Linked DNA regions of Homo sapiens: regions 1, 3, 4, 5, 6 and 7 are each linked to region 2. The links are contacts of gene promoters, found by promoter capture Hi-C in blood cells and fetal thymus (Javierre and others, 2016). All regions are on one chromosome and are shown on one strand. The core of a region is centred on a gene start or on the middle of the fragment in contact, and the rest is flanking DNA. Distances in the headings are between cores, read along the strand shown. Region 1 has its middle 70 kb from the start of NAB1. Region 2 holds the start of MFSD6 (major facilitator superfamily domain containing 6). Region 3 overlaps GLS (glutaminase). Region 4 has its middle 24 kb from the start of MSTN. Region 5 has its middle 9.1 kb from the start of GLS. Region 6 holds the start of LOC124907946 (a long non-coding RNA gene). Region 7 has its middle 81 kb from the start of GLS.

The links. The method cuts DNA at HindIII sites, captures the fragments that hold promoters and counts their contacts. A CHiCAGO score of 5 or more calls a contact.
Region 1: a contact is called between a fragment that was not itself captured here and the fragment with the promoter of MFSD6 in region 2, in 1 of 17 cell types (activated CD4 T cells). The highest score is 5.5, in activated CD4 T cells.
Region 3: a contact is called between a fragment that was not itself captured here and the fragment with the promoter of MFSD6 in region 2, in 1 of 17 cell types (fetal thymus). The highest score is 5.0, in fetal thymus.
Region 4: a fragment that was not itself captured here is called in contact with the fragment with the promoter of MFSD6 in region 2 in 1 of 17 cell types (erythroblasts); the score reaches 5.2 in erythroblasts.
Region 5: a contact is called between a fragment that was not itself captured here and the fragment with the promoter of MFSD6 in region 2, in 2 of 17 cell types (total CD8 T cells and fetal thymus). The highest score is 6.6, in total CD8 T cells.
Region 6: a fragment that was not itself captured here is called in contact with the fragment with the promoter of MFSD6 in region 2 in 5 of 17 cell types (activated CD4 T cells, M2 macrophages, M1 macrophages and 2 more); the score reaches 7.8 in activated CD4 T cells.
Region 7: a contact is called between a fragment that was not itself captured here and the fragment with the promoter of MFSD6 in region 2, in 8 of 17 cell types (activated CD4 T cells, M2 macrophages, M1 macrophages and 5 more). The highest score is 9.7, in activated CD4 T cells.

Annotation. Positions count from the first base shown.
Region 1 is chr2:190,717,608-190,720,458 of GRCh38, reverse strand. No RefSeq gene overlaps it. Among named protein-coding and RNA genes, the nearest start is that of NAB1, 70 kb to the right of the region's middle. The HindIII fragment of the contact is 1,540 bases long and covers 760-2,299 here.
Region 2 is chr2:190,407,045-190,409,744 of GRCh38, reverse strand. MFSD6 (major facilitator superfamily domain containing 6) reads right to left here and starts at 1,390. Exons shown (of 8, transcript NM_017694.4): 1 at 1,242-1,390. RefSeq lists a silencer at 770-1,809 and an enhancer at 2,070-2,119. The HindIII fragment of the contact is 2,674 bases long and covers 1-2,630 here.
Region 3 is chr2:190,891,918-190,894,617 of GRCh38, reverse strand. All of the region lies in intron 1 of GLS (glutaminase), which reads right to left. Among named protein-coding and RNA genes, the nearest start is that of GLS, 12 kb to the right of the region's middle. The HindIII fragment of the contact is 308 bases long and covers 1,285-1,592 here.
Region 4 is chr2:190,085,418-190,088,117 of GRCh38, reverse strand. It overlaps a transcript of AKAP19 not described here. Among named protein-coding and RNA genes, the nearest start is that of MSTN, 24 kb to the right of the region's middle. The HindIII fragment of the contact is 2,772 bases long and covers 1-2,700 here.
Region 5 is chr2:190,870,319-190,873,037 of GRCh38, reverse strand. No RefSeq gene overlaps it. Among named protein-coding and RNA genes, the nearest start is that of GLS, 9.1 kb to the left of the region's middle. RefSeq lists an enhancer at 2,677-2,719. The HindIII fragment of the contact is 3,363 bases long and covers 1-2,719 here.
Region 6 is chr2:190,759,737-190,762,436 of GRCh38, reverse strand. LOC124907946 (a long non-coding RNA gene) reads left to right here and starts at 1,936. Exons shown (of 2, transcript XR_007087780.1): 1 at 1,936-2,345. RefSeq lists an enhancer at 1,429-2,628. The HindIII fragment of the contact is 2,741 bases long and covers 1-2,620 here.
Region 7 is chr2:190,798,136-190,801,128 of GRCh38, reverse strand. No RefSeq gene overlaps it. Among named protein-coding and RNA genes, the nearest start is that of GLS, 81 kb to the left of the region's middle. The HindIII fragment of the contact is 2,719 bases long and covers 224-2,942 here.

The DNA.
Region 1 (2,851 bases), core at 280-2,779, 310 kb before region 2:
GACAGGCATGGAGTCTCCTCCTGTCACCCCAGAGCTATGTGGTGTCTTGATTAGGTGACTTTGCCCATGTTGTCATTCAACTTAATATTTATTGATCTATCTCTGTGAGAATCACTTGGCTGGCCCTTTCGTCTGGAGTGTCAGCCTCCTCTCACCTGCCCCCAGGAGGCTTCCTCCTTCTTCTTTTAACTGCTTGCACATCTTTAAGACTCAGCCTTGGAGACACGTCTTTTAAAAAGCCTTGAATGGGCCTGGGAAGTGGCTCACACCTGTAATCCCAGCACCTTCAGAGGCCAAAGTGGGAGGATCACTTGAGGCCAGGAGTTCAAGACTAGCCTGGACAACATGGTGAAAGCCCGTCTCTACTAAAAACACAAAAATTAACCGGGTATGATGGCACACACCTGTAATCCCAGCTACTCAGGAGCCTGAGGCATGAGAATCACTTGAACCTGGGGAGGCTGCAGTGAGCCAAGATTGAACACCACTGCTCTCCAGCCTGGGCAACAGAGCAAGACTCTGTCTCAAGAAAAAAAAAAAAAAAGATACCTTCTCTGACCACTCCCTCTATTCTTCCCTTTCCCATAACACTAAGTCATATGCGCCCAAAACAATTTGTGCACATCTCCATCAGTGAGTGGTTTTCCATGATGGTCATCCTCCCCGACTAGGCTGGTGTATTCTAGTGTGCTCACCTTTGGGGGTCTCTACTACTGATTATTTGCAAGACCTAAGGCAACTTATTTCACTTTGTAAGCTTCTGTTTCCTCAACTACAAAACCAGGTTATTAATAGAAATTGTATGTAAGGAACCTAGCACAATGCTTGATATACAGTAAGTGCAAAGTATGTTAAATGTTTAATAAATTAATGTCATAGGAACACCATTAGAAAACTCCTTAAAAGAAAAATATTTATTTTTTAAGCACTTGTAGGGACAAGGAGCTTGTCCCCTTGTTTGATAATTCTATTTATAGTGTAACTGAAGCCATCGTAGTTTGACTCACACTAGTTTTATTGACAAAAATGAGTGCCCTCTGCCCCTACTCCCAGTGTCCCCTGTTCTGCTAAAGAATCTTGAGACTCTCTCAAGGTGCTCTGTCATGTGTATTCAGAAACTGGTCCCTCTGGGGCAAAGCTGTTCTCAGCTGGTGCCTGTGGCTGCCACCACTGCTGTGGCCTGAGGACAGAAGTCATAACCCTCCTCTGCTTTGCCTCAGGGGTTGGTTGTGGACCTTTCCCCTTAATTCCTCTCAGGACATCAGAAGTCAAAATATTTGAGACACTGATCAGATCACAATAAAGGTTCAGGGACAATGGAAAGGAAACAGAAAACAGAGAATAAGTCAGTGCCAGGCACAGGTCCTTCCCCCTCCAGGAGGAAGTGCCCTGGGGACTCAACAGTCACCTTTCCTGGGAAATCCAGTCAGACTGACTCTAGTCCCAGCATTCTGATTTCCCGCCCCATGACTGACCTCTTCTGAGGACAGCTGGCAGTGAGCAGTTCCAGTCCCTTCAGGGGAAACCCCACCTGCATAATCTCAGGGTGATTCATCGCCAGTGCAATTCCCCAAAGCCCCATCATTCAGTCTTGCCTGTTGCCACTCTGTTGATCATGAAAATCGTGGCTACCACATCTAGTTTACTAAACAATCCTTGTTCGTAGGAAGTACAGGCGTGAAATAATTTATTTTTCTACAGTCACTTGCCTTCAGTTCTGCCATGTTCACGATCTCTCTGCTGAGTTCCCTGACAATATCTTGGTTAGATCTCTAGGGTTCCAGTCACTTTCAAAGATTAACAGCCCGATTCGGTATAGTCTGTGAACGCTGAAGGTCTGAGACAGGGCTCGGTTAATTTAGAAAGTTTATTTTGCCAAGGTTGAGGATGCACCCATGACACAGCCTCAGGAAGTCCTGAAGACATGTGCCCAATGTGGTCGGGGCACAGCTTGGTTTTATACATTTTAGGGAGACATGAGACATCAATCAACATATGTAAGAAGTACATTGGTTCCATCTGGAAAGGCAGGACGACTTGAAGTAAAGGCAGGAAGACTCGAAGCGGGGAGGGAGCTTCCAGGTCACAGATAGCTGATACACAAACGGTTACATTCTTCTGGATTTCTGATTAGCCTTTCCAAAGGAGGCAAGTCAGATATGAATCTATCTCAGTGAGCAGAGGGGAGACTGCGAATAGAATGCGAGACACGTTTGCCCTAAGCAGTTTCCAGCTTGAGTTTTCCTTAGTGATTTTGGAAGCCCAAGATATTTTCCTTTCGCAAGTCCAATTTAAAGCTTCCGTCTGGGTCCAATGCAATGACCAATGTCCACTCCGCCAGCCCTGGCCAGCCCCCACCAGAGGGACTCAGGGTGTGGAGTAGCACACCTGCTCCGGCAGCATCCTCCTCTATTCTGTGCAGTCCTCCCATCTGTGTGGACTAGTGAGGAGGAACAGGAGAGACAGACAAGTGTTTCTCACCTGCCTGGCCAGGGCTGGCAGCTGGTGGCAGACATCCAAATACTGGCTTCCTCACTGATGCTTATGTGAATTTTCCAGAAGCCCCACAGATGCCTCCCACTTCACAGTCTCTACCATCTGCTCCTACCCTTGGTGATTCACCCCACTGGTTTTTATTGTTGTTGTTGTTACCAGGGTCCACTTTCCTGGCAGCCAGTTCTCTTGGGTGGGATATGGGTGAGACAGGCTCAAGGCTGGCTGCTTTCTATGCGTTCCTTTGATCTGTGAAATCACACTTCCATCACCAAATGCTAAATGGTAGGCATGGGAGCTGCAGCACTCTACCCTTTCTCTCTGCCTCCTTCCAATTCTCTTTTCTACTTGTCACATT
Region 2 (2,700 bases), core at 141-2,640:
CAGATGCATACACTTTTAGCTGGCTAGTGCCCACATCTTGGGGAAAGGACCTACCAAGTACACATCTCCTTTTATTACATATTTTAGTCAACTGTATGTCCACCCACCCTTCACATTCATCTATACTTAAGAGGTTAGATTTCTAGAAAATCATGGACTTCTAGAAGGATTAGGGGAAATTTTGGCCACTATAATATCCAACCATCCTCTTTTCCATGTGAGAAAACTGGGGCTCAGGAAGATGTGACATGCCCAAGCACACACATCTATTTAAATACCAGTTGGGATTAGAACCCCAACTCTTTAAGTCTTTTGCACACTAATAAGCAAGGTATTATATGTTCCAGTAGTTCTGTGAGGTGCTTATTCAATCTTTTTGGGATGAAAAGAAACGTCCGTGGTTGCGAATGCATAAAGGTAATTAACCCACCTGTCTGTCCATGTGGGGATGGGATTAACGAGGGGGAAAGTTGCGTTTGTATTTTTCCACCATCTTACCTAAATTTGCAGGAAAATTGCTCTATGGGCAATAAATATGACCCAGAAAGACTAGCAACCCCCAGTAGTATCTCAAAAGGGCTCCAGAGACATGTTAGACCAAGTGGAAGTAAAGCACGAGGTGGGGGATGTCTGCTAGGATGGTGGCTGGCAGAGCAGAGGTATTTTTTTTTCCGTATTTATTAACCTGGGAGGGCAGACGTTGTCAATTTCCTCCTCCTGCCACACAAGTGGCCGCGTCCTTGTCACTGGGGCTGTGTGGAGGTTCTCACCTCCTCCTTTTTCCCAGGGATGTTTATGGCGAGGGCGCGGGTCGGCCCGGGCGGAGGAGGACCCGGGCATCGGCGCTCACCCTCCGTCCCCACCCGCGGCAGCAGCTGTGGGCGCCCGGCGAGGGCTCCCTGGGCAGCGCCTTTGTTTTCCCGACTCCAGTTACGTTTGCGGAAGTGCTGCCAGCACGGGGCGCGCTGGGGGCGCAGGCGGCAGCCTCCCCCAGCACCCCACAAAGATGACACCCGACACGGAAGCCGGGGGAGGGAGGGAGGGAGGGAGCGGCGGGCGAGCGAGGCCCGAGCGGAGACAGCGGCGCACGCTGGGCTCCGAGCCCCGGCCCCGAAGCCCCTTTCCCGGCAGCAGGTGTGCGCGGCTGAGGTGCCTACCCGCCCTCCGGCTGGGCCCGTGCGGGGCGGGGGAGGCCAGGGCGGGTCTGCGAGCCCCTTCTCCGCAAGCCGGGCCCGACTCACCTGCTGCGGCGGCGGCAGCGCTCAGCTGCGCGGGGCGCGGGGAGCCCTGTCCCCGGAGCACGGGGCGGCGGCTCGGGGCGCCGGGGCGGCGGCTGTCGGGGCAGCGCGCACCATCCCGGGCTGCTCGCGCGCTCCTCCGGGGCTGCGACGGGCTGGGCGGGGCGCGGCGAGGCGAGGCGAGGGATGCGGACCGGGTGGGGCCACGGAGGACGGAGGCGGAGGGCCCAGCGCTCCCGCCGGCGCGACCTTCTCTCCCGCTGCGGCTCCTCCTCCTCCCCGGCCCCGGCCTCACAGTCGCCGCCGCCGGTCACTACCGGCTGGACCCGTTTCAGGGCCGGGCGCTGAGGACCGGCCGCCAGGTGCAGCGCTCCGCCTCCTGCGGCGGCGGCGGATGCGTCGACTGCCCGCTCCCGGCCTCCAGCCCGCCCCGGCGGCCCGGAGGGACACCTGAACCCAGCCGGGCCCGGGGAGCACGCTGAGGAGGCGAAAGCACTGGGCGAGGCTCCATCCCTACCGCACCCTCCACCCCCCCGCACCCCCAAGCGACTTCCGCTGAGCCCCCAGGCAATGAGTGCGGGCCAGGAAATGTGGGGGAAAATGTACTAACATCCCTTATTCCTTGAGCGCCTTTTAAGTGGCACACACAATGCTAATGCTGTCAGTGCGTTATCTCCGCGTCTGTCCCAGGTTGACCCGGGAGGGAGGAGCCGGCGGGGTGCGGGAGACAAACGATCTGTGAGTTTCGGGGCTCACCAAGAAGGGGGAACACTGAGACGAAGGCACCCTTTTTCAGGAAGCTGCTACTGGCATCTTGCTGAAAAGCCAACCGTGTGTGTCGCACTAAGAATATAATTAAAGTTGTATTTCTAGTTAAACACGCAGAGAGTTGGGGGAGAGTGGAGTATTCACTTGGCAAGTATGTCTGTGTGCCTGTGATGGGCTTTGGGGGATGCCACATCCTGTTCTTAAGGAGTTTATTGTCTTGTTCTGGCAACAACGACAAGAGTGACAATGGTAGCTAACGGCAACAACGACAAGAGTGACAATGGTAGCTAACGCTTATAAACATCGATTATGTACGGGGCACTGTGTAGGTACTCTTTGAGCCTTATAACCCTATAGGTGTAGGAAACGTTATTCCCATTTTACAACTGAGGAAAGCCGAGGCTGAAAGTTAATGTGACCCATCCAAAGTTACTAAACAGCGAAAGGGAAAGCAGGCTTCTTTTGTCTCCAGGCTTTAAGCTCTTAACCGTGAAATCATACTGGTAAGAATTTGATAGGCCCTGAAGTTTCTGAATTTTGAGTCCCTCTTTAGGAAGAATAAAACAATTACAAATACGAAGTTTCTAGGGCCCCTTCCTGAGCTTATGAAGGGTCTCTGAAGCTTAAACTATAGTAGCCTCATGCTAAATCCACTTTCAATATTGACGTAGATATTCAATCATTTCTTTCTCCA
Region 3 (2,700 bases), core at 189-2,688, 480 kb before region 2:
TTGGGTAAATTAATTAACCTTTCTGTGATCCAGTTTCCTCATCTGAGAAAGGGAATAAAACAGTGCCTCCCTCATAGGGTTGTGGTGAGGATCAGTTGACTCAATACATTCAATATCTTTAGAACATGTCTGGCAGAGAGTAAGACTCCACTGACAGTAGTTGTAGTTATTATTTCTAAAGTGATCTAGGTTTACATATCCTAGTCAGCCCTTTGCATCCATAGATTCAACCAACACGGATAAAAAATATTCAGAAAAAAAATAAAAAAACGTACATTCAAAAGATAGTATAAGACTTATTTACATAGCATTTACATTTTATTAGGTATTATAAGTAATCTAGAGATGATTTAAAATATATGGGAGGATATATGTAGGTTATAGGCAAATATTATGCCATTTTACATAAGAGACTTGAGCTGTGGGGGACCTGGAACCAATCTCTTAACATATACAGAAGGACAAGGCAAGACTGTATACATCAAATTCTACAAATCATAAAGACTATTAAAAGAAAAACGTTACCAATAAGTATGCATTAAAAATCTTAATTAACTAAACTAGTGTAACACTAAAATGCTATGATTAACCAAACTTTTAAATACTGAATGTCACACAAATGTTTTTTAAAAACACATAGCTTTATCATTAAAATATTTAATGACATATCCTGATACATAATTATTCCCTGAAACTGTTTTTGCTCTTAGACAACTTCTAAAAATGCATTTGAAGCTGGGCGTGGCAGCTCACGCCTATAATCCCAGCACTTTGGGAGGCTGAGGCAGGAGGATCACTTGAGGTCAGGAGTTCGAGATCAGCCTGGCCAACACGGTGAAACCCCATCTCTACTAAAAATAGAAAAACTAGCCAGACGTTGTGGCAGGCGCCTGAATCCCGGCTACTTGGGAGGCTGAGGCAGGAGAATAGCTTGAACCCGGGAGGTGGAGGTTGCAGTGAGCCAAGATCGTGCCACCACACTCCAGAGTGGGTAACAGAGCGAGACTCTGTCTCCAAAAAAAATACATTTGGGATGTTTTAGTAATAATAACTACAATATATTGATCACTTACTTATATTCTACACACTGTGCTAAGTGTTTTACATGCATTCTAACTTAATCCTCCAAGGATTTTATGACAGAGGTACTACTGTTATCCAAAACATAGTATGATTTCTGGTACATACTTAGAAGCTCAACAAATTTGTTATTTGTTCAAAAAAATGACTACCTCTGTCCCCATTTCACAGATTAGGAAACAGAGGCTCAGAGGTTAAGAAGCTTTCCAAGGTTACACAATGGCAAAGATGGATTTTTCTGAATCCAAACTACTGCTACATTATACTGGCTCTCTAACTTACTAGCTTGTTATTACTTTTATAAGGTACAAACAAGTTTTCTAGGTCTTATCCTGACCTAATACCATTAAACACAGCTTAACAATACTCACCACCTAATATTCAAAGAAAAAACTGAACCAGCTGTCAAAAAATCAGTGGATAATAACATACCAATTATTTACAGCAAATGGTTGGTCAAATAAACTTCAGATAGTGGTAGTTTGTCACTTTAAAAAACTGCAGAATAAGCTTTCTATGTATTTATCACACAAGTAAATGGTATTTGCTTTGCCTAAAAGCTATGTAAATAACGTAAAATATACACTTTTTTAGCTTATGGCACATAGTGAAAAAAAATTAAAATGACCACGTTATTGCCAAAGCTAGCAAAAAAAGACAAATGTTTACTTGCTTTTAAACAAGAAATTAATTTTTATCTATAGGGGAAAGAATTTAAGCCAGCCCTAAAAAATAAGCTCACAAAATAAGCTGTCAAAACTGATAAAAAGAAATTACTACCTATTTCAGCATTTGAAACCTCAGATTTTGATCTGAGAATGAATTCGCTTCAACAGTCTGGCGAACAAACATACTCAAATATTCTCCTCAAACTTTCCACAAGGCAGAAACTACTCAAGATCATTCATGCCTTAACCCCCCTTTTCTCTCCCTAAATTAATTCTTTCTGGTAATTCTTCACAATAATGTATTTTTCATTAAAATTCAAAAGCTAAAAACTATAGCTTTTGGTAACTATATAGTAACTAGGAAATCCTTGAGAGAAGTATTTAAGTTTTAATGACAAATAGGATTATAGCAATCTTTCAAATCTTATCATCAACAATTATTAATAACCCAAATGAATCCTCCAGATTCCCCTGAAGAGAAAAACATAAAATGGTTATGATATTCAGCAATTCAAATAGGATATAACAGAAGATAATCTGAAGGAAAATCCTTATTTCTCACCTTTTTACTTCTTCTCCAACTTATACTGTCTCTCTCGTTTCCTTTCTAAATGCTGCCTTTAAGATCATCTTACCATCATATTGTTTCTTCTTTTACCCATTCCTTCCCCTACTTTAGCCTTTAACTGTCTTAAAAAATAATTTCTTAATGAAAAAGAAGAAAAATCCCATGCCATGTATGACATCATGTTAGACATCATTTACAGTCTAGAAGAAGTAGGAGACATGTACATAAAATGAGGAATTACAAGAATAGATCTATGACATCCAGACTTTGGAAAACTACTTCACTGTGGTCTAATAAGGTCAAGCTTTTTTTTAGATGAGGTGGAATCTGAGCTAAACCTGAAAGATGGGTAAGAGCTGGAAGCATGGCAACAGAAAAAGATTT
Region 4 (2,700 bases), core at 113-2,612, 320 kb after region 2:
CACATTTCCTTTCTGCCATCTTTAAAATAGGTATAATAATATCAGCTATACATACTTTACAGTGTTTCAGGGATGATCTCTGTAATTTTTTCCTCTCCAATTATTCAAGCAGGTAGCCAGGTTCTTTTCTACTTTTTTGTGTGTGTCCGGAATTTTTTGCATGGGGAAAACTTAAGCCATCTGAGGTTTTAAAACTCCTTATCTTTTATACAAAAGATTATGGTAGGAGCCCTGGAGAAGGAAGGGAGAAGAGGGCTTTAAGTAAAAAGAACAAGATAGAAGATTGTCCCATTCTGACTAGAAAGGTTATAGAGGTTTATTGGTTTCATGACCAATTGGGAACACTATAGAGCCTGCTCTGAGGATGCCCCTGAGCAGGGTGGAAAGACCTCAGGGTGGAAGGGTTCATGATGTATGATTCAAAACCTAACTGGAAGACAGACAGAAGTAGAGATCGACATTGATTCACAGGCAAGTGGCACTTTGGCCAAGGAGTCAGCGGGTTGGAAAACAGAATTTGAGGAATGGTTAAAGGGAGGCCTGAGGAAGAGTTTTAGGACGGGCCTCTCAGAGTAAGCAGAGTGAGAATATCTGTGTCCCAAATTAATGCTTACTAAAAGGCATCCACTGTAAAACAGATTCTCAGTAATCAAGTAAAGAGTATGGCCAATCCTGTGGATGCCAGTTAGCTGCCTCCCCTAGCTACCCTGGCGCTTGTACAATGGGCCCATGAACACTTTGGCCCTAGCAACGGGCATGTTGATCACGTGTGGGCTTAAGAACATAGGATTCTTTTCTCCCACTATGATCTGGCTAGTCTCACTGATGAGAGATTTAAGGAATCTGAGTTGAAGAAATGGTTTCATGTCTGTTGGAAAAATCTGACTTGATTAAATGGTAGAATAATCTATTGACAACTTATGTTGCCACTTGTAAGACTAGGTTGCTGTCCCACAAGTTATTGTATATTTCCCAAGCCAGCAACTAATATATAATGCTATTTCTTCCATAGCCAGAATACTTAGATCTGAAAATGAAAGTGTAAAAGTATTGGTGGTTCCATTATTATTCCTAATGACCTACTCACATAACTTTTGTTTCCAACCTCACAATGTTGTGCTCTTAGTTTCCATGGAAGGAATACTTTTTCCAGGAAACACTAGAAGGGTTCCTTTGAATGGAAGCTGAGACTGCCACATCAGCCACTTTGAGGTCTTCAAGGCACTGAACCAACAAGGAAAGAAAGGGATTACTGTATTCGCTGGGACAATTAATCCTAATCATAAAGTGGGAAAAGTGGTGGTACTACAAAACAGAGGGAAGACCATGTCTCAAAGGCAAGACATTCTCTGAGCAACTCCTTTCATATCCATATCTGAGCAATTCCTTCCATATCCATGGTAAAATTTACAAGATTAGAGCAAACCAAGCCAAGCAAGAACCACAATGGTTCAGATATTTCAGGAATGAAGGTTCAGGTCACTCTGACTGATAAATAATAACACCTAGCTAAAATGATAACTGAGCAAAGGGAGCATGGGAAGGGAAGTGGAAGAGGGAGTTACAAATACCTACTATGGCCTCATAAATTGTGTAGACTGCAACCATCGTGCATATTTTCTAATGTTTCTCTTTCCCCATCTTCCTTGAGGTCTTTGAGGATTTGAACCTAATTATGGAATAGGTCAGGGTCTGGAAGTGATAAGTAGTGAGAATTAACATTTAGGAGATTCGTCATCTTCCTGCAAATAAACCACCTCAGGTGAAATTATTACAGGTTATCAGATGGAAGAGGAGGACTGCTCCTACTAACAACTAAGACTCAGTGGAGTTTGTTAATTCAGGCAACAATTGGTGATATTTTAAGGAATGTTTTGTCATTACATTGTACAAATTATCAGTATCCTATTTTCCATTGATAGTGAGGCCATTACTGATTTCAAGTCTAATCTATGTGTATGTTAACATCCGCAATGTGCTTATACTATGTGATAGATTTCTTTGGAGGAAGGGAAACACAAGTGAAGGATTTGTAGTTGGATTCATTAGAACCTACCCAAATATTTCCATTCACAGGATCCCACTCTACTAACCTATGCCTAGAAAGGCTGCACTGTAATGCTGAAAGCTGTAGAAGCAAATTTAGGTTTGTTTTTTGGCTATTTCAGCCCCACTGGTACAAGAAACAAGACAGTCTTTTAGGTAGTTTCTAGTGCAAGCAGAACCTTTCCCATGGCCTTCGTGCTCATAATTTCCACTATAATATTTTATTGCACCAGTTACTTCATCTCTTAAGCCTTGCTGCTGAGAGGCACCTGGTTACCAGCAACAAAAGCTGATCATTTAAGAAATGTTTTGTCACTGTATGGTATGGATGATCAGTGTCCTATTTTCCATTGACAGTGAGGTCATTACCAATTTCAAATCTAATCTATGTATACATTAACATCTACAACGTGCTCATACTATGTGATAAGTTGTTCAGGGGGAAGGGGAACACAAATGAAGGAAAGAAATGGCCCATGGCCTCAAGTACGTTGTGATCTTATAATCAGTAGCTAAAAGAGTTCTGCTAAACTTCAGAGAGGAAATGGGATTCTTTCAGCTGCCTCATTCCCTCTTCACTAGATGATCAGTGAACGCTATATTTGTTAAGCTGAATTAGAGACGAGAGAAACTATTTCTTGGAGTGCTAAGTAC
Region 5 (2,719 bases), core at 169-2,668, 460 kb before region 2:
TACTATCTCAGAGATAAATATGAAAGCAATTACTTTACTAATAACATATGAATAAGAAATATATTCTTCCTTCCTTTGATGTTAAAGAGGCTATTTATGTTTGTAACATTTCTGTTGGAGACAGGTGTTGATATGGTTTGGCTGTGTCCCCACTCAAATCTCATCTTGAATTCCCATGTGTTGTGGGAGGGACCTGGTGGCAAGTAATTGAATCATGGGGGCAGGTTTTTCCTGTGCTGTTCTCCTGATAGTGAATCCGTCTCATGAGATCTGATGGTTTTAAAAAGGGGAATTTCCCCACACAAGCTCTCTTCTCTTGTCTGCTACCATGTGAGATGTGCCTTTTACCTTCCGCCATGATTGTGGGGCCTCCCCAGCCGCGTGGAACTGTAAGTCCATTAAACTTCTTTCTTTTGTAAATTGCCCAGTCTCAGGTATGTCTTTATCAGCAACATGAAAATGGACTAATACAGGTATCAATTGCTAAATGTTATGGCTAGAGATATTATAAGTTAATAAGGTCACATGGCTAATTAATAATAGAGTTGCTGAAAACATACCCTTCAGCTAGATCTGGCACTTATCCTCATTTCTTTTGAACCATCAGTGAAATGCCCACCCAAAGACTCTGCTGTGGCTTGAATGTCCTTGACAAAACTCACATTGCAATTTAATTGGCCAGGCGTGGTGGCTCACACCTGTAATCTCAGCACTTTGGGAGACTGAGGAAGGCAGATCATTTGAGGTCAGGAGTTTGGACCAGCCTGGGCAACATGGTGAAACCTAGTCTCTACTAAAAAAAAAAAAATTAGCCAGGTATGGTGGCACATGCCTGTGGCATGTGGTGTGGTGGCACATGCCTGTAGCATGGTGGTATGGTGGCACATGCCGGTAGCATGTGGTATGGTGGCCTGTAGCATGGTGGTATATGCCAGGTATGGTGGCACATGCCTCCTGAGACCCAGGAGGCTTGAACCCAGGAGGCGGAGGTTGCAGTGAGCTGAGATTGCACCATTACACTCCAGCCTGGGTGACAGAGCAAGACTCTGTCTCAAAAAAAAAAAAAAAAATTAATTGCCATTTTAACAATATTAAGAGGTAGGGCCTTTAGGAGGCGATTAGGTCATGAGGGCTCTGCCCTCATGAATGGATTAATGCCATTATCATAGAAATGGGTTAGTTATTGCAGGAGTGGGCTCCTGATAAAAGATTAAGTTCAACTCCCATTTGTTCTCTCTGACTCACACTCATTTGCCATGTGATGCCTTCCTCCATGAGATGACTCTCATCAATTGCTGACACCATATTCTTGGACATCTTGGCCTCCAGACCATGAGCCAAATAAATCTCTTTTCTTCATAAATTACCCAATCTGTGGTATTTTGTCCCAGCAGCAGAAAATGGCCTGAGAGAGAACATTGTTATTGAGAAGTGGAGCTGTTGCTATAACAAATACCTGAAAATATGGATATGGCTTTGAAACAGGGTAATGGGTAGAGGCTGGAAGAATTTGAGGAGCAAGCTAGCAAAGGCCTAGATTGTCCTAAACAGAGCATTAAGGGTGATTCTGGTGAGGGTTCAGAAAAGAAGAAATGCAGGGAAAGTAGGTGATACGGTTTAGATTTGTGTCCCCGCCCAAATTTCATGTCTGAATTTTAATCCCCAGTATTGGAGGAGGAGCCTGGTGGAGGGGATTGGATCATGGGGACAGACTACCTCCTTGCTGTTCTTGTGATGGTGAGTTCTCATGAGATCTCATTGTTTAAAAGTGTGTAGCACCTCCCCCTGCTCTCTCTTCCTCCTCCTCCGGCCATGTAAGACATGCGTCCTTCCTCTTTGCTTTCCGTCATGATTGTAAGTTTCCTGAATTCTTCCCATCCATGCTTCCTGTACAGCCTGGGGAACTGTGAGTCAATTAAACCTCTTTTCTTTATAAAGTACCCAGTCTCAGGTAGGTCTTTATAGCAATGCAAGAACAGATTAATACAATCTGGCACTTCTTAGAGATTACTTAAGTGCTCACAGCCACAATGTTGGTAGAAATATGAACAGTAAAGGCCATTCTAATGAGGTCTCAGATGGAAATGAAGAAGGTATTAGAAACTGGAGTAAAGACCATCCTTGTTATAAAGTAGCAAAGACCTTAGTTGAATTGTGTCCATGCCCTAGGCTTTATGGTATGCAGAACTTAAGAGCAATGAACTAGGATATCTGGTGGAAAAAATATCTAAGCAGCAATACTTCCAGGCTGCTGGAGCTACCTTTAACTGCATACAGTGAGATGCAAGAGGAAATAAATGACTTAAAAACAGAATTTATTGGAAAACAAAAATAAAATTCTAGCCCCAAACCGACTGAACAGACCTCTTTCTTGACCAAGGAGATTTCAAAGAAACCTGAAAAACTAGTTCAGACCATGCTTCATTATACTCCCTTCCATTTTAAGTTTAGATACAACTAATCAGCATTAACAATAAAGTAGAGATACAGCTGGGTGCAGTAACTTATGCCTGTAATCCCAGCACTTTGGGCAGCTGAGGCTGAGGGGATCACCTGCGGTCAAGAGATTGAGACCATCCTGGCCAACATGGTGAAACCCTGTCTCTACTAAAAATAGAAAAATTAGCTGGGCGTAGTGGCATGTGCCTGTAATCCCAGCTACTCGGGAGGCTGAGGCAGGAGAATCACTTGAACCTGGGAAGCAGAGGTTGCAGTGAGC
Region 6 (2,700 bases), core at 1-2,500, 350 kb before region 2:
GAAGACAGCTTCTAACAGGAGCTGACTTACCATAGGCCCCAGATCAGTCTGGGTAAAGGACTCTGGGGTTTCAAATTAGAGCCTGAGAAGTCTAAGCAAGAACCTGGAATGTGCCAAAAGTATGTGTTAGAATTAAAGCAAACAGCCATTCTATATTTACTTGGAGGACAAAGAAAGTCATTTAAAAAAATAGGCAACATCCTGGTGCAGAATTTAAATGTATACTTACATTACTTGAAGATTTCCTCATCAAGAAACAAATTTCCATTTCTAATCGCCCTTTTCTTGTGTCCTCTGTACAGATTGCAATTAAGAGGAATATCTACAGAAAACTTAAAATTGTCATAAGTAGCACATGTATTTTTGATGCATTCAAAATAGAGATAGTCCAGGTGCAGTGGCTTACACCTGTAATCCCAGCATTTTGGGAGGCCGACTCAGGAGGATTGCTTGAGGCCAGGAATTGGAGGCTGCAGTGAGCTATGATCACACCACTGAACCCCAGCCTGGGCAACAGTGCAAGACCTTGTCTTCAAAAAAGGAAAGAAAAACAGGCCGGGCGTGGTGGCTCACGCCTGTAATCCTAGCACTTTGGGCGAGCGGATCACTTGAGGTCAGGAGTTTGAGACCAGCCAGGCCAACATGGCGAAACCCCATCTCTACTAAAAATACAGAAGTTAGCCGGTTATGGTGGCACATGCCTGTAATCCCAGCTACTCGGGAGGCTGAGGCAGGAGAATTGCTTGAACCCAGGAGGCAGAGGTTGCAGTGAGCCGAGATTGCGCCACTGCACTCCAGCCTGGGCAACAGAGCGAGACTCCGTCTCAGGAAAAAAAAAAAAAAAAGGAAAAATAGAGAGAGGCTGAAGTTATCAAAATAGAATGATATCTCAAAATAAGAAGTACTGTTGAGAGGTGACAGTGTGCTGGCAGTTCTCACAGCCCTTGCTCGCTCTCGGCGCCTCCTCTGCCTGGGCTCCCACTTTGGCGGCACTTGAGGAGCCCTTCAGCCCACCGCTGCACTGTGGGAGCTCCGTTCTGGGCTGGCCAAGGCCGGAGCCGGCTCCCTCAGCTTGCAGGGAGGTGTGGAGGGAGAGGCGCGAGCGGGAACCGGGGCTGCGCGCGGCGCTTGCGGGCCAGCTGGAGTTCCGGGTGGGCGTGGGCTTGGCGGGCCCCGCACTCGGAGCAGCCGGCCGGCCCGGCCGGCCCTGCCGGCCCCGGGCAATGAGGGGCTTAGCACCCGGGCCAGCGGCTGCGGAGGGTGTACTGGGTCCCCCAGCAGTGCCGGCCCACCGGCGCTGCACTCGATTTCTCACCGGGCCTTAGCTGCCTTCCCGCGGGGCAGGGCTCGGGACCTGCAGCCCGCCATGCCTGAGCCTCCGACCCCCTCCGTGGGCTCCTGTGCGGCCCGAGCCTCCTTGACGAGCGCCACCCCCTGCTCCATGGCGCCCAGTCCCATCGACCACCCAAGGGCTGAGGAGTGCGGGCGAACAACGCGGGACTGGCAGGCAGCTCCATCTATCTGCAGCCCCGGTGCGGGATCCACGAGGTGAAGCCATCTGGGCTCCTGAGTCTGGTGGGGACGTGGAGAACCTTTATGTCTAGCTCAGGGATTGTAAATACACCAATCAGCACTCTGTATCTAGCTCAAGGTTTGTAAAAACACCAATCAGCACCCTGTGTCTAGCTTAGGGTTTGTGAATGCACCAATCGACACTCTGTATCTAGCTACTCTGGTGAGGCCTTGGAGAACCTTTGTGTCCACACTCTGTATCTAGCTAATCTGGTGTGGACTTAGAGAACCTTTCTGTCTAGCTCAGGGATTGTAAAGGCACCAATCAGCGCCCTGTCAAAACAGACCACTGGGCTCTACCAATCAGCAGGAAGTGGGTGGGGCCAGATAAGAGAATAAAACCAGGCTGCCTGAGCTAGTAGTGGCAACCAGCTTGCGTCCGTTTCCATGTTGTGGGAGATTTGTTCTTTCGCTCTTTGTGGTAAATCTTGCTACTGCTCACTCTTTGAGTCCACACTGCTTTTATGAGCTGTAACACTCACCGGGAAGGTCTGCAGCTTCAATCCTGAAGCCAGCGAGGCCACCAGCCCACCGGGAGGAACGAACAACTCCAGACGCACCGCCTTAAGAGCTGTAACACTCACCGCGAAGGTCTGCAGCTTCACTCCTGAGCCAGCGAGACCACGAACCCACCAGAAGAAAGAAACTCCGAACACATCCGAACACCAGAAGGAACAAACTCCAGACGCGCCAACTGTAACACTCACCGCGAGGATCCGTGGCTTCATTCTTGAAGTCAGTGAGACCAAGAACCCACCAATTCCGGACACACTGTGAGTCAGGATCAGTCTTATTATAGCTAATTAGAGCAACCCCATTGCTAAAGAGTTTAGAGCCTGGGTCAGACTTCATGGTAGCAAAGCAATGTTTTATTGTAATAGTGTAATTAGGAATGTGTGGCAATATTTTAACCCCTCCTCCCAAGAGTTCCACAATGCTTTCTTAACATGTTTATAAATATTTGCTTTTGTGCCATTTTAGGGGAGCTTTCCGTACAAACATTTGGCTTTTAATGAGTCATCCACACTCTGATTCATACCCATAAGCTTCCTGCTTTGTTATCAGTGAATATTGGGCTCAGTAACTGCCTTACTTTTATAATTTACATGAATGAATATGGAAAAGGTG
Region 7 (2,993 bases), core at 334-2,833, 390 kb before region 2:
ACAATATTACGACGAGTATAGAAAATACTACATAAAGAAAATATAAAGGCTGCCTGAAGAGTTAATGACTAATTCTGTTATCTGAATTGGTGCTTCAGTGACGATTGCTCTGAGAAAAGCTTATGTTTAAGGTATTGTGGGTGCAATCTGTACATCTGAATTACACCCAGGGCCTTATTAATGCTATGTGTGAAATTATGGAAATTACCAAAGCAAAAAAGCTTTATGTTTGCATTCTGCTTTCAGATATAAGGCAAGGTAATTATATTTAATAACCCAGTGACTACATTTTATATCTTAAAATTATAAAGTAAGAAAAAAATGGAAAGTGCTTGCATGTGAATGTAATCATACCTTAAAATGATGACCTCAATCTTAAGCAATGCACTTTTATCTTTAGATAACATGTTAAAGCAAAGGCAAATAACTATTCTATCATACAGTGGTCTAATTGTGTTCAGAGAAGAAGAATGACAAATATACAGCAAATGGTTATGAGACGTAGTTTATAATGACAACTTATTTATTATTAACCTGATGAAAAGAAGGCTTAATTGTGAATTTGTGAGCCTTCACAACTAAACAAAAGATCAGTAAGCAAGCAATTCATGTATTGTTCTCCATTTCCACTGAAGACAGCAGCTTAAATTAGTTAAACAAAAGAACATTCTTAACAATATGGCTAAGAATAATAAAAGTAGGAAACACTTCTTGGAGATTTTGGCCATAGAGGGCATGAATCTATAGGTAAAGATTTCTCAGGTGGCTGAAGAATAATTATATACTTCTTGCTGATCATGTGATTCTATGAAAACCTATTGTCTAAATTAATGCAGTAGTGTTTTGTTCCCAGTGAGGGATAATGTCTTTTGCATTTAATGTAAATTCAGTGTTGTCAGCATTGAACTTCACTAATTTAGAAAGTTCCCACTGGTCATTAAGAAAACCCAAATGAGGAACTCTATGTTCTTTGTGACTGCTAGTCAATGATGGAATGGGGTGTTGGGGAGAAACTAGGGGATGTAGATAAAAGGATTGGAAAATGGATAAGAATTAGTGAATAAAATTAAAATAATTTTAATTTTTAAAAGTTAATTAATTAAAAAAATTAAGGACAGTGATTCTCAATCCTGGCTGCAATTAGAATCATGTAGGGATTTTTTTTTTTTAATATCAATCTCCGGTTTTGAAATACCAGTACTGGCCTAGGGTGGATCCCTGGCATAGGTCTTTTTCCAGCCATGTTTGAGAACTGCTATTCTAGGACTTTTAAGGATCTGCAGTGCTCCTAAAATTAAGCAGAGTATGATGGTTAAAAAAACAACTCTACACCAACTATTGCTGCAGAGTATTTTTTTAACATAAGATCCAAATAAATGTTATCAACTGCCCATCAATCCATGGATCTATGAGTGGTGTGACTTAGTAGAAGCATATGTTGTAGTAACAGAAGAGCAATAGATCACTACAGGGAGGTTGTGAAGAATTTTAATAAACTTCTTCAAATAAATGTCTCATTTCTAATCCTTCTAACATCCAAATAAGAGATTCAGCCACCTTAATGAGATAATCTCACATTATCTCATTTAATAATCACAACAACTCCTGAAGTTTATCACAGAATTTCCATTTTATACATATAGAAACCTAAGTTCAAGGTAAGTAATTCAAGTTCACAGATTAGAAATGAAAAAAAAAAAACTGGATTTGAATTCAGGTGTATTGCTTCTAGTCCATTCATTGAGTGAACAGCCACTGAAGTATTAGCTCACAATTTCTCCTATTAAAACTGCAGTCCATTCAACCCATTGTTGAAATACTGAGTCATGTGAAGACAATTACTTGGAAAACAGCCCTATTATTGACTAAAACCATTTTATAAACTGAATTAAAAGTTTTCAGTATCCAAATAAAGACTTGTTTAGGGATTGTGGTTGATTAATTAAATACTATGTCAACTTGTTCTATTCTGAGATATAAAGAAGGGTTGATTGCCTTTAGAAGCCTCAACCACTGAAAAGGCTGTGACGCCTCCCCAACAGCCTCTCATATGTATTTAAAAACAATTTTTGTAATCTGAATTATAAGGCTGGGTGTGGTGGCTCATGCCTGTAATCCCAGCACTTTGAAAGGCTGAGGTAAGGAGGATTGCTTGAGCCCAGGAGTTTGATACCAGCCTGGGCAACATAAAAAGACCCTCATTTCTACCAACAGCAACAAAAAATCAGCCAGGAATGGGGCTCACGCCTGTAGTCCCAGCACTTTGGGAGGCCGAAGTGGGAGGATTGCTTGAGCCCAGGAGGTCAAGACTATTGCACACTGCACTACATAGCCTGGGCAACAGAGTGAGACCCTGTCTCAGAAAACAAAACAAAACAAAAACCCTGAACTATAAAATAAGTGCGATATTGTTCATTAAAGTCTGCTTTTCCCTCTTATAGCTACTTAGGCGGTTTTTGGCTTTTTATGATGCCCTAAGCACATACTTAGTTTGCTCTTTGCTTAGTCTAGTCTGCGATACCAAATGTCCATCTGTAAATTTTCTTTGGCATTGTGCCCTACTTGTATACTTTTCAGTTGATTTGAAAACCAGTCATCAGTTGATACACTAACCTTCTAGATGACAATTGTGATTCGGTTCTCAAGTGGAGAGAGGTTATATTCTCCTGACCTTCAAAGGGAATAATACAAGCTACAGAAGGTTCCCTGCTCCTACCCCAGGTGGGTAGAACAGTTGGTATGGAATGGGATGGGATGGGATGTAACTCATTATGCCACTAGGGTGCATAGAAATCTTGTTCAAAAATTGTGATCTGTGTATTTTGGTAGAGGAAATTTTAATGCTTTTGAAGAGAAAATATTTGAAAGAGTTCTTACTGCCCCTAATAAGCCCAAAGTTAACATTTTTGAAAGAGTGTCCTCACCATTCTGAAACTTAAGCTTTTATTAATTATCTTTAAATCAGTGGTGGAAACTGTGTAATCTTATAATTG